2 separate regions of the Homo sapiens genome follow, and region 2 is linked to region 1. The links are contacts of gene promoters, found by promoter capture Hi-C in human tissues and cell types (Jung and others, 2019). All regions are on one chromosome and are shown on one strand. Each heading gives the region's core, a stretch centred on a gene start or on the middle of the fragment in contact. The rest is flanking DNA. Distances are from core to core; before and after follow the strand shown. Region 1 holds the start of CTRB1 (chymotrypsinogen B1). Region 2 overlaps ADAT1 (adenosine deaminase tRNA specific 1).

Region 1 (4,578 bases), core at 581-3,080:
CACTGCACTCCAGCCAGGGCGACAAGTGTGAAACTCCATCTAAAAAAATAAATAAATAAATAAGAGAACTAGATGGTGGCATACTCACACAACAGAGCACGCATTATAAAAATGCAGGTGAATGAGCTGAAACTCCACGTCAACATGCAGGAAGTGAGAAGATTTGAGTAGGGAAAAAGCACATTGTTGTAGAATGGAGGTAGAATGGAGTATTAGTTACATCAGCCAGGCACAGTGGCTCACACCTGTAATCCAGCACCCTGGGAGGTTGAGGTGAGCAGATCACTCGAGCACAGGATTTCGAGACCAGCCTGGACAACATAATAAGACCCCAGGTCGGGCATGGGGGCTCACGCCTGTAATCCCATCACTTTGGGAGGCTGAGGTGGGCGGATCACTGGAGGTTAGGAGTTCAAGACCAGCCTGACCAATATGGTGAAACCCCATCTCTATTAAAAATACAAAAATTAGCCAGGTGTGGTGATGCATGCCTGTAATCCCAGCTACTCAGTAGGCTGAGGCAGGAGAAATGCTTGAACCCAGGAGGCGGAGGTTGCAGTGAGCCAAGATCACGCCACTGCACTCCAGCCTGGGTGACAAGAGTGAAACTCTGTCTCAAAGAAAAGAAAAAAAAATAACAAAAAAAACCTCCATCTCTACAAAACAAAACAAGTTTTTAAACTTAGCGTGCCTGTAGCGCCAGCTACTCGGGAGGCTATAGTGGGAGGATCACTCGAGCCCTTGAGTTTGAGGCTGCAAACTCACACTACTGCACTCCAGCCTGGGTGACAGAGTGAGACCCTGTCTCAAAACCAAAACCAAAACCAAAACCAAAAACAGGATAGAATACCGTTCCATTGATGTAACCTTTTTGAAACCTTATGTATAGATGTATAAAAATATGTAGTACAATTGTATAAGCTCACACTGCAATTATTCATAGAAAGTTCAGAATCAAGCTCACATTCCAGAGAGGGAAGGAGGGAGAAAAGGGAAGCCTGAGTACAATCTGTTTTAGAAATATCTGAAGCAAATGTGCAAAAAGATTTGCTGAATTCTGACAGTAGATACAAGGATGTCATATTCTTTTCTGTATTTTCTTTTACTATTTCTCTTTTAAAAAATAGAAAACACGGCTGGGCACAGTAGCTCATGCCTGTAATCCCAGCACTTTGGGAGGCCGAGGCGGGGGCATCACCTGAGGTCAGGAGTTCAAGACCAGCCTGGCCAACGTGGTGAAAGCCCGTCTCTACTAAAAATTAGCCAGGGTTGGTGGTCCATGCCTGTAGTCCCAGCTGCTCGGGAAGCTGAGGCAGGAAGATCATTTGAACCCAGGAGATGGAGGTTGCAGTAAGTGGAGATTGCACCATTGCACTCCAGCCTCGGCAATAGGAGTGAAATTCTGTCTCGAAAAAAAAAAAAGAAAGAAAGGAAGAAAATGCTTGACAAGTACCCAGCACAATAAAAACCCCGGTGGAGGCCTTGGGAGGTCTCCTGGGGCCACACCTTACCCTGCACAAGGCACCCCCACCCCAGCCACTTCTGGAGCCTCAGACCATGGCAGAGACCAGCATCGTCCTTCCCACTCCTGGAGCAGGTTGTGTGGGCTCAGAAAGCCCCAGAATGCACCCTCTCCTGAGCCCTCAGGTTACCTGTGCTGGGGATGAGGCCCCAGGGGGCAGAGCAGGGGACTCAGATCCCCCTCTCAGCCAGGCTCAGGGCTCCCTCAGGACAGACCCCTCGGGCACCAGCACTCACCAAAGGCGGCCCCCACAAGGGAGAAGCAGGAGAGGAGCCAGAGGGAAGCCATGCCGCTGCCTCAGAAGGTGTGGGGCCTGCCAGCTGCGGGGCCCCTTTTACCACCTTGGGGGGGCAGGGAGCCCAGCCCCCCCCGCTCCCCCAGCCAGGGAGGCCTGAGCCCACCCTCCCTGTTACCCAGGGACCTTGGGCAATAAGTGGAGACAGAGCCCCGCCTGGCTCTCTACCAGACAACCCCAGTCCCTGGGAAAGGGGCAGCTGCGCTGACATCACCGGTCAGCCTTGGGGACATGATCCCACAGAGCCAGCTGTGAGCTGCAGTATCCCTGCCAGGAGACGGCACCAGGCTCTTCTGTTCCCAGAGGGGAAGTGGAGGCAGTTCCACCCCAGGGCTCGTGGAGGACCAGCTGCTGTCATGGAACCAGGTCTCCGGGAACTCAGGCTCTCAGTGAAGGGTGTTTCCGCCTAACACTGTCCTAGAAGCAAAGGGTGACTCAGGGCATCGTGGATTCTCCAGAGTGTCACTGCAAGTCACCAGTGAAGCCAAGCCACTTCTGACTGTGGCGAGGGTCTGGGTGACAAGGACCAACCCGCTGGTGGCCGTAACAGGTGGGCAAAGCCACTGACACGCGTCCCACCTGTGCTGTAGAACCCAACAGAATTCACTTTTTCTGCAATGACTCATGATATAAGGAACTAATCATTTCATAAAGTTTCAGTTTCTTACAAAATGGAACTTGGATTCCGCACCATAAAATGACACAGAAAACAAACTTTTTAAGATGGAGTCTCACTCTGTCACCCAGGCCGGAGTGCAGTGGCGCAATTTCAGCTCACTGCAGCCTCCTCTTCCCGGGTTCAACTGATTCTCCTGCCTCAGCCTCCCAAGTAGCTGGGATTACAGGTGCCCACCACACCCAGCTATTTTTTTTTTTTTTTGAGATGGGGTCTTGCTCTGCTGCCTAGGCTGGAGTGCAGTGGCACAATCTTGGCTCACTGCAGCCTCCACCTCCCAGGTTCAAGCAATTCTCCCACCTCAGCCTCTTGAGTAGCTGGGATTACAGGCATAGCACCAAACCTGGCTAATTTTTATATTTTTAGTAGAGACGGGGTTTCACCATGTTGGCCAGGCTGGTCCCAAACTCCTGATCTCGGGTGATCCACCTTCCTCGGCCTCCCAAAGTGCTGGGATTACAGGCGTTAGCCACCGCACTTGGCCAATTGTTGTATTTTTAGTAGAGACAGGGTTTTACCACGTTGGCCAGGCTCCTCTTGAGCTCCCGGCCTCAGGTGATCCTGTGGCCTTGGCCTCCTAAAGTGCTGAAATTACAGGCGTGAGTCACTGCGCCTGTCTGAAAATAAATTTTGAGGAAGCAGAAAAACTTTTTTCATTGTCACAAAACAAGGAGGAAAGACAGGTGTGGGTGACAGGTCGGTGACTGGGCAGAAAGTGAAGGCCAAGGGATCCTCAGCACCCTGTGGGCAGATATTCAGGGGACAGAGCCCGCAGCATCCCTGCCCTTATGGGCCTGAGACGCTCATGACAGACACACACGACACAGATGAGCATGTAATATAGTGACCACAGTCACCTGGGGCAAGGCTGGACAGGACAGGCTGTACTGCATTTCCGGACGATGAGGGTATGAAAGTAAGACACAGTGGGTGGATGGTGTTTCCATGGAAGGCCTTGGGCTCTGTGGTCAGCGGGCCAGGTCACCTTGGCATTTAGAATATCCCCTCCCCACTCCCACCGCTGCTGGAGAATGCACAACTATAAAGCAAAACTAAACTTATATACTAAAGAGAAAATTTCAAAAGTTCACATCACCATGTTACCCTTTTTTTTTCTTTTTCCCCTGAGACAGAGTCTTGCTCTGTCGCCTAGGCTGGAGTGCAGGGGTGTGACCTCAGCTCACTGCAACCTTTGCCTCCCAGGTTGAAGCGATTCTCCTGCCTCAGTCCCCCCAAGTAGCTGGGATTACAGGCGTCTGCCACCATGCCCAGCTAATTTTTGTATTTTTAGTAGAGATGGGGTTTTGCCATGTTGGCCAGGATGATCTCCAACTCCTGACCTCAAGCGATCCAGCCACCTCGGCCTCCGAAAGTGCTGGGATTACAGGCGTGAGCCAGCACACCAGGCTGATAGCTACAATTTAAAGAAACAGAAAATAACAAGTGTGGGATGTGGAAAAACTGGAACCCTCATACATTGCTGCTGGGAATGTAAAATGGTGAAGCTGCTATGCAAACAGTTCGGCATGGCTGGGCACAGTGGCTCACGCCTGGAATCTTGGCACTGTGGGAGGCCAAGGTGGGAGGATCACTTAAGCCAAGGAGTCCAACACCAGCCTGGGCAACAAAGTGAGACCCCATCTCTACAAAAAAATTTAAAAAAAACAACATTAGCTGGGCATGGTGGCGTGGTGGCATAGTCCCGGCTACTCAAGAGGATGAAGTAGGAGGATAACTTGAGCCTGGGAGATCGAGGCTGCAGTGAGCCGAGATCCAGCCTAGGCAGCGGAGCAAGGCCTTGTCTCAAAAAAAAGAGTAAAAAGAAGTGCAAAGAAAACAGTTTGGCAATTCCACAAAATAAACAGAGTTACCTCATGACCTGACAATTCCACTCCCCCTAAATAAAAGGACTTAAGCAGACACTCGCACACCAGTGTTCACAGCAGCACTATTCCCAACAGCCAAAAGACAGAAATCACCCCTGTTGTTCATCAGCAGAGGAATGAGTAAGACATGAGCTCTCCACAGGACTATTATTCAGTCATAAGAAGGAATGAAGCAGGCCTGGTGTGGGGGCTCACACCT
Region 2 (4,578 bases), core at 653-3,152, 390 kb before region 1:
GGAAGGTGAGAGGGTAGGGAGGGCTCAATTGGAACAGTCATTCCAAGAGGCAGTCTGAGGGTAAGGCCTAAGAGCATTAAGAATCTCCATACCTTTTGATCCAGCAGTTCCACTTCCAGGAATTTGTCTTAAGGAAATAATTAAAGTATTTGAACATTTAGCTTTGTATATAATTTTTTTTTGTTTTTTAGAGACGGAGTCTTGCTCTGTCACCCAGGCTGGGGTGCAATGGCGTGCTCTGGGCTCACTGCAGCCACCGCCTCCTGGGTTCAAGTGATTCTCCTGCCTCAGCTTCATGAGTAGCTGGGACTACAGGCATGCGCCACCACGCCTGGCTAATTTTTGTATTTTTAGTAGAGACGGGGTTTCACCATGTTGGTCAGGCTGGTCTCAAACTCCTGACCTCAGGTGATCCACCCACCTCGGTCTCCCAAAGTGCTGGGATTACAGGTGTGAGCCACCGCGCCCGGCTAATAATTTTTTTAAAGAAGAAAAGTAAACAACTGAAATGCCCAGTAATAGGAAATTAAGTGTTTTCTTTGTTGTTAAAAATAGTATTGATGAATGGCTGGGCATGGTGGCTCACGACTGTAATCCCAGCACTTTGGGAGGTCGAGGGGGGCGGATTGCTTGAGCACAGAAGTTCTAGACCAGCCTAGGTAACATGAGGAAACCCCGTCTTTACAAAAAATACAAAAACTAGCCAGATGTGGCACGCACCTGTAGTCCTAGAATAGGGCAGCTGAGGCAGGAGGATCACCTGACCCTGGGAAGATTGAGGCTGCAGTGAACCAAGGTCATTCCACTGCACTCCAGCCTGGGTGACAGACCCTGTCTCAAATAAAATAATAATATTTATGAATATTTAATATGGAAACATGTCTATACTGTTTAAAGAACAGTTTAGAAGATAAAAAGCCAATTTTGGTCTTAAAGTACATCCACACATAAGAAAAATTATAAGAGGATGAGCGCTAAGGTATTATTAATAATCTCTGAGTTGTATTATGGGTGGTTTTTTTCTTCTTTGTTTTTAATATATTTTCTGATTTTTCTACAGTGCACATACATTGCCATTATATATGTTTTTTAACCCTAAACATTAGTTTGGGGCTTTCAGAATGTTTTTGTAGTGACAAGGTTTCACTGGGTCTCACCCAGACTGGAGTGCAGTGGTACAATCATAGTTTACTACAGCCTCCAGTTCCTGAGCTCAAGTGATCCTCCTGCCTCAGCCTCCTGAATAGCTAAGATTACAGGCATAAGCCACCACACTTGGCTGATTTTTAAATTTTTTTTGTGGAGACGGGGTGTTATTGGGTTACCCAGGCTGGTCTTGAACTCCTGGCCTTAAGTAATTCTCCCACCTTGGCCTGCCACAGTGTTGGGATTATAGGTGTGAGCCACCTCACCCAGCCCTAAACATTAGTTTTAATTTTTTTAAAGTTAAAAGTCAAAAGATGACCACTCAAGTGTGGTCTCCCTAAAGGAGGCAGCCAAACTCAGTGCTATAGGAAATGAGGGCAGGGCAAAGCCATGGCCAGGGCAAGCCTCATAGGCCCATATCAAATGTGAAGCCTCAAGATATGGTCCAGCAATTCCACTCCTAGGTACAACCCAAAATAAATGAAAACATACATTCACACAAGTAGGCCAAGTACAGTAGCTCATGCCTGTAATCCTAGCATCTTGGGAGGCCATGTCACGCAGATTGCTTGAGTCCAGGAGTTCAAGACCAACCTGGTCAACATGAGGAAACCCTGTCTCTACAAAAAATACAAAACTCAGCCAGGTGTGGTGGCACACACTTGTAGTCCCATCTGCATGGGGAGCTGATGTGGGAGGATCACCAGAGCCACGGGATGTTGAGGCTGCAGTGAACCGTGATTTCACCACTGCACTCCATCCTAGACAACAGAGTGAAACCCTGTCTCCAAAAAAAAAAAAAAGTGTATATGTATATAACAAAAACCTGTACATAAATGTTCACAACAGCATTATTCATAATAAACAAAAAGACAAATGTCCATTAGTGGATGAATGGATAAATCAAATGTGATATATCCATACAATGGACTATGATTCAGCTATAAAAACGACTGAAGTACTATTACATGCTGCAGCATGGATGAACTTGAAAATATAATGCTAAGTGAAAGAAATCACATATTGTATAATTTTATTTGTGTAATATCTAGAACAGGCAAATCCATAAAGACAGATAATAGCTTAGTAGTTACCACAGGCTAGGTGCTGTGGCTCATGCCTGTAATGCCAGCACTTTGGGAGGCTGGAGTGGGAGGATCGCTTGAGCCAAGGAGTTCAAGACCAGCCTAGGCAATATGGCAAAATCCCATCTCTACAAAAAATTTAAAAATTAGTCGGACATGATGGTGCATGCCTGTAGTCTCAGCTACTTGGGAGGTGGAGGTGGGAGGATCGCTTGAGACCAGGGGGCAGAAGTTGCAGTGAGCCGAGATCATGTGACTGCACTCCAGTCTGAGCAACAGAGACCCTATCTCAAAAAAACAAAAAATTTAAGTGGTTACCAGGGAATAGAGAGTGAATGCTAATAGGTACGAGGTTTCTTTCTGGGGTGATGAAAATTCCTTAAATTACATTACCATGATAGTTGTACAGTTCTATGAATATACTAAAAACAATTGAATTATCCACTTTAAATGAGTACATTTTATGGTATGTGAACTATATCCCTATAAAGATGTTGGTTTTTTGTTTTTTTTTAAAAAAGCCAACCCTAGGCACTGTGCCTGGGATGTTTTCTGTTTTTCCTATTCTGGTACTTGCAGTTGCTATCTGCTTCATTCTAGACCAGCATCATGTTGGCATCTAGTTTGTTCAAAGATACAAGAGAAAAAAATGAAGCTTTTATATTATAGGATAATTTTGGGTTTTGGTGTGTTTGAAGGATTCCCTAGGAAGCAGGTGCCAACACATTAATGTTTCTGCTTAAACTTTTCAAGTTTCTCAAAGCCTATATCAGGAATGGAGTTTGGTGTTACATCCCTGAAGGGTGTTGACTTGATTCTTAGTTATCCCTGCAGATTGAGGGAGAAGGATCTTCTTCCAGCCATGAGGTGCTTACAATCTTGATTCTATTCTGAAACACTGTCTGCCCAAATAAATAAACAAATCCCCACACCTGCTAAGGCTCAGGGGTGATGATGTGAGCCACAATCCTAGATACTGTTTTCTCTAGGCATGCACCTAAACTGAATGCATTTTCCCTTGTATTTAGGTGTCAGAATGTGTCTGCTTTACCAAAAGGCTTCGGAGTTCAAGAATTAAAAATACTGCAGTCAGATTTACTATTTGAACAGAGCCGCAGTGCGGTGCAGGCAAAAAGGGCTGATAGCCCAGGTCGACTTGTTCCTTGTGGGGCAGGTAAGAGATCCAGGTTAGACCTGCCCTGGAGTAACTGCTCCCCTGACTGAGAGTGGCCCCAGAGGGTCGGCATCCTCCCAGCCTAGGAAGGTAGTTCACCACTCTAGTGGCCGGTAGTGTGGGCTTTAGAGACACCCATAGTGGGTCACGTTTATGCTCTTGTGACCCCCGGCATGTTATTTACCCTCCCTTGGCCTCAATTTCTTTGTCTTCAGATTAGAAGAATATCATTTATCAGGGTTATTGGGAAGATTCAGTGAGAAATTCTGTTTAATGCATTTACTCTGTGCCCAGCAAATAATAAATGCTCAGTGATTGTTAGCTATCATAATAATAATGAATTATGAACCACTTAGACTACTGTACCCTGGAGGCCAAGCATCCAATAGCAGTCATTGTCTGTGACATCATATCCAGCTCTCATGGGTCTGTAGAGTCAGAGAAATATTTTTATTAAAATACTTCTGACTTTCACAAGAAATTGAGCAGTTTTAACCCTAGAATCTTATCTTTTCATAGCCATCAGCTGGAGTGCAGTTCCTGAGCAGCCTTTGGATGTTACTGCCAATGGCTTTCCACAGGGAACAACAAAGAAAACAATTGGAAGCCTTCAGGCAAGGTACAGCATATTGGGGCAGGAGGAGATGGTGGCTGTGAACTCACACTCTACCACTATCTAATTCTAGAACATTTTTATTACCCCAAAAAGAACAACCATACCCATTAGCAGTCACTACCTATCCCTCCCTCTCCTCATCCCTTGGAAACCTCTAATTTACTTAATTTACTTCCTGTCTCCGTGGATTTGTCTAGTCTGGACATTTTCTATCATTGGAATCCTACAGTATATGACCTTTTGTATCTGGCTTCTTTCACTTAGCATAGTGTTTTGGAGGTACATCCTGAGGTAGCTGTATCAGTACTTCATTACTATTCATGACTTGAATAATATCCCATTGTGTGGATATACCACATTTTGTTTGCCATTCGTTCATGAATGGACGTTTGGGTTGTTTCACTCTTTGGCTATTGTGAATAGTGCTGCTGTGTAGAACTATGAACATTTCATGTACCACTTTTTGCATGGCCATATGTTTTCAATTTTCTTGGGTATACCTAGGAGTAGTGTTACTGGGTCATATGGTAATTGTTATGTTTAACTTTTTTGAGGAA

Evidence for each region. The method cuts DNA at HindIII sites, captures the fragments that hold promoters and counts their contacts. A contact is called where the count stands out against the background at its distance.
Region 2: a contact is called between a fragment that was not itself captured here and the fragment with the promoter of CTRB1 in region 1, in 1 of the 25 tissues and cell types used here (lymphoblastoid cells).

Annotation. Positions count from the first base shown.
Region 1 is chr16:75,216,240-75,220,817 of GRCh38, reverse strand. CTRB1 (chymotrypsinogen B1) reads right to left here and starts at 1,830. Exons shown (of 7, transcript NM_001906.6): 1 at 1,759-1,830. The coding sequence starts at 1,810. RefSeq lists an enhancer at 2,213-2,292. The HindIII fragment of the contact is 13,252 bases long and covers 336-4,578 here.
Region 2 is chr16:75,607,670-75,612,247 of GRCh38, reverse strand. It overlaps ADAT1 (adenosine deaminase tRNA specific 1), which reads left to right. Exons shown (of 10, transcript NM_001324445.2): 6 at 1-5; 7 at 3,260-3,405; 8 at 3,925-4,024. Among named protein-coding and RNA genes, the nearest start is that of ADAT1, 13 kb to the left of the region's middle. The HindIII fragment of the contact is 5,098 bases long and covers 1-4,451 here.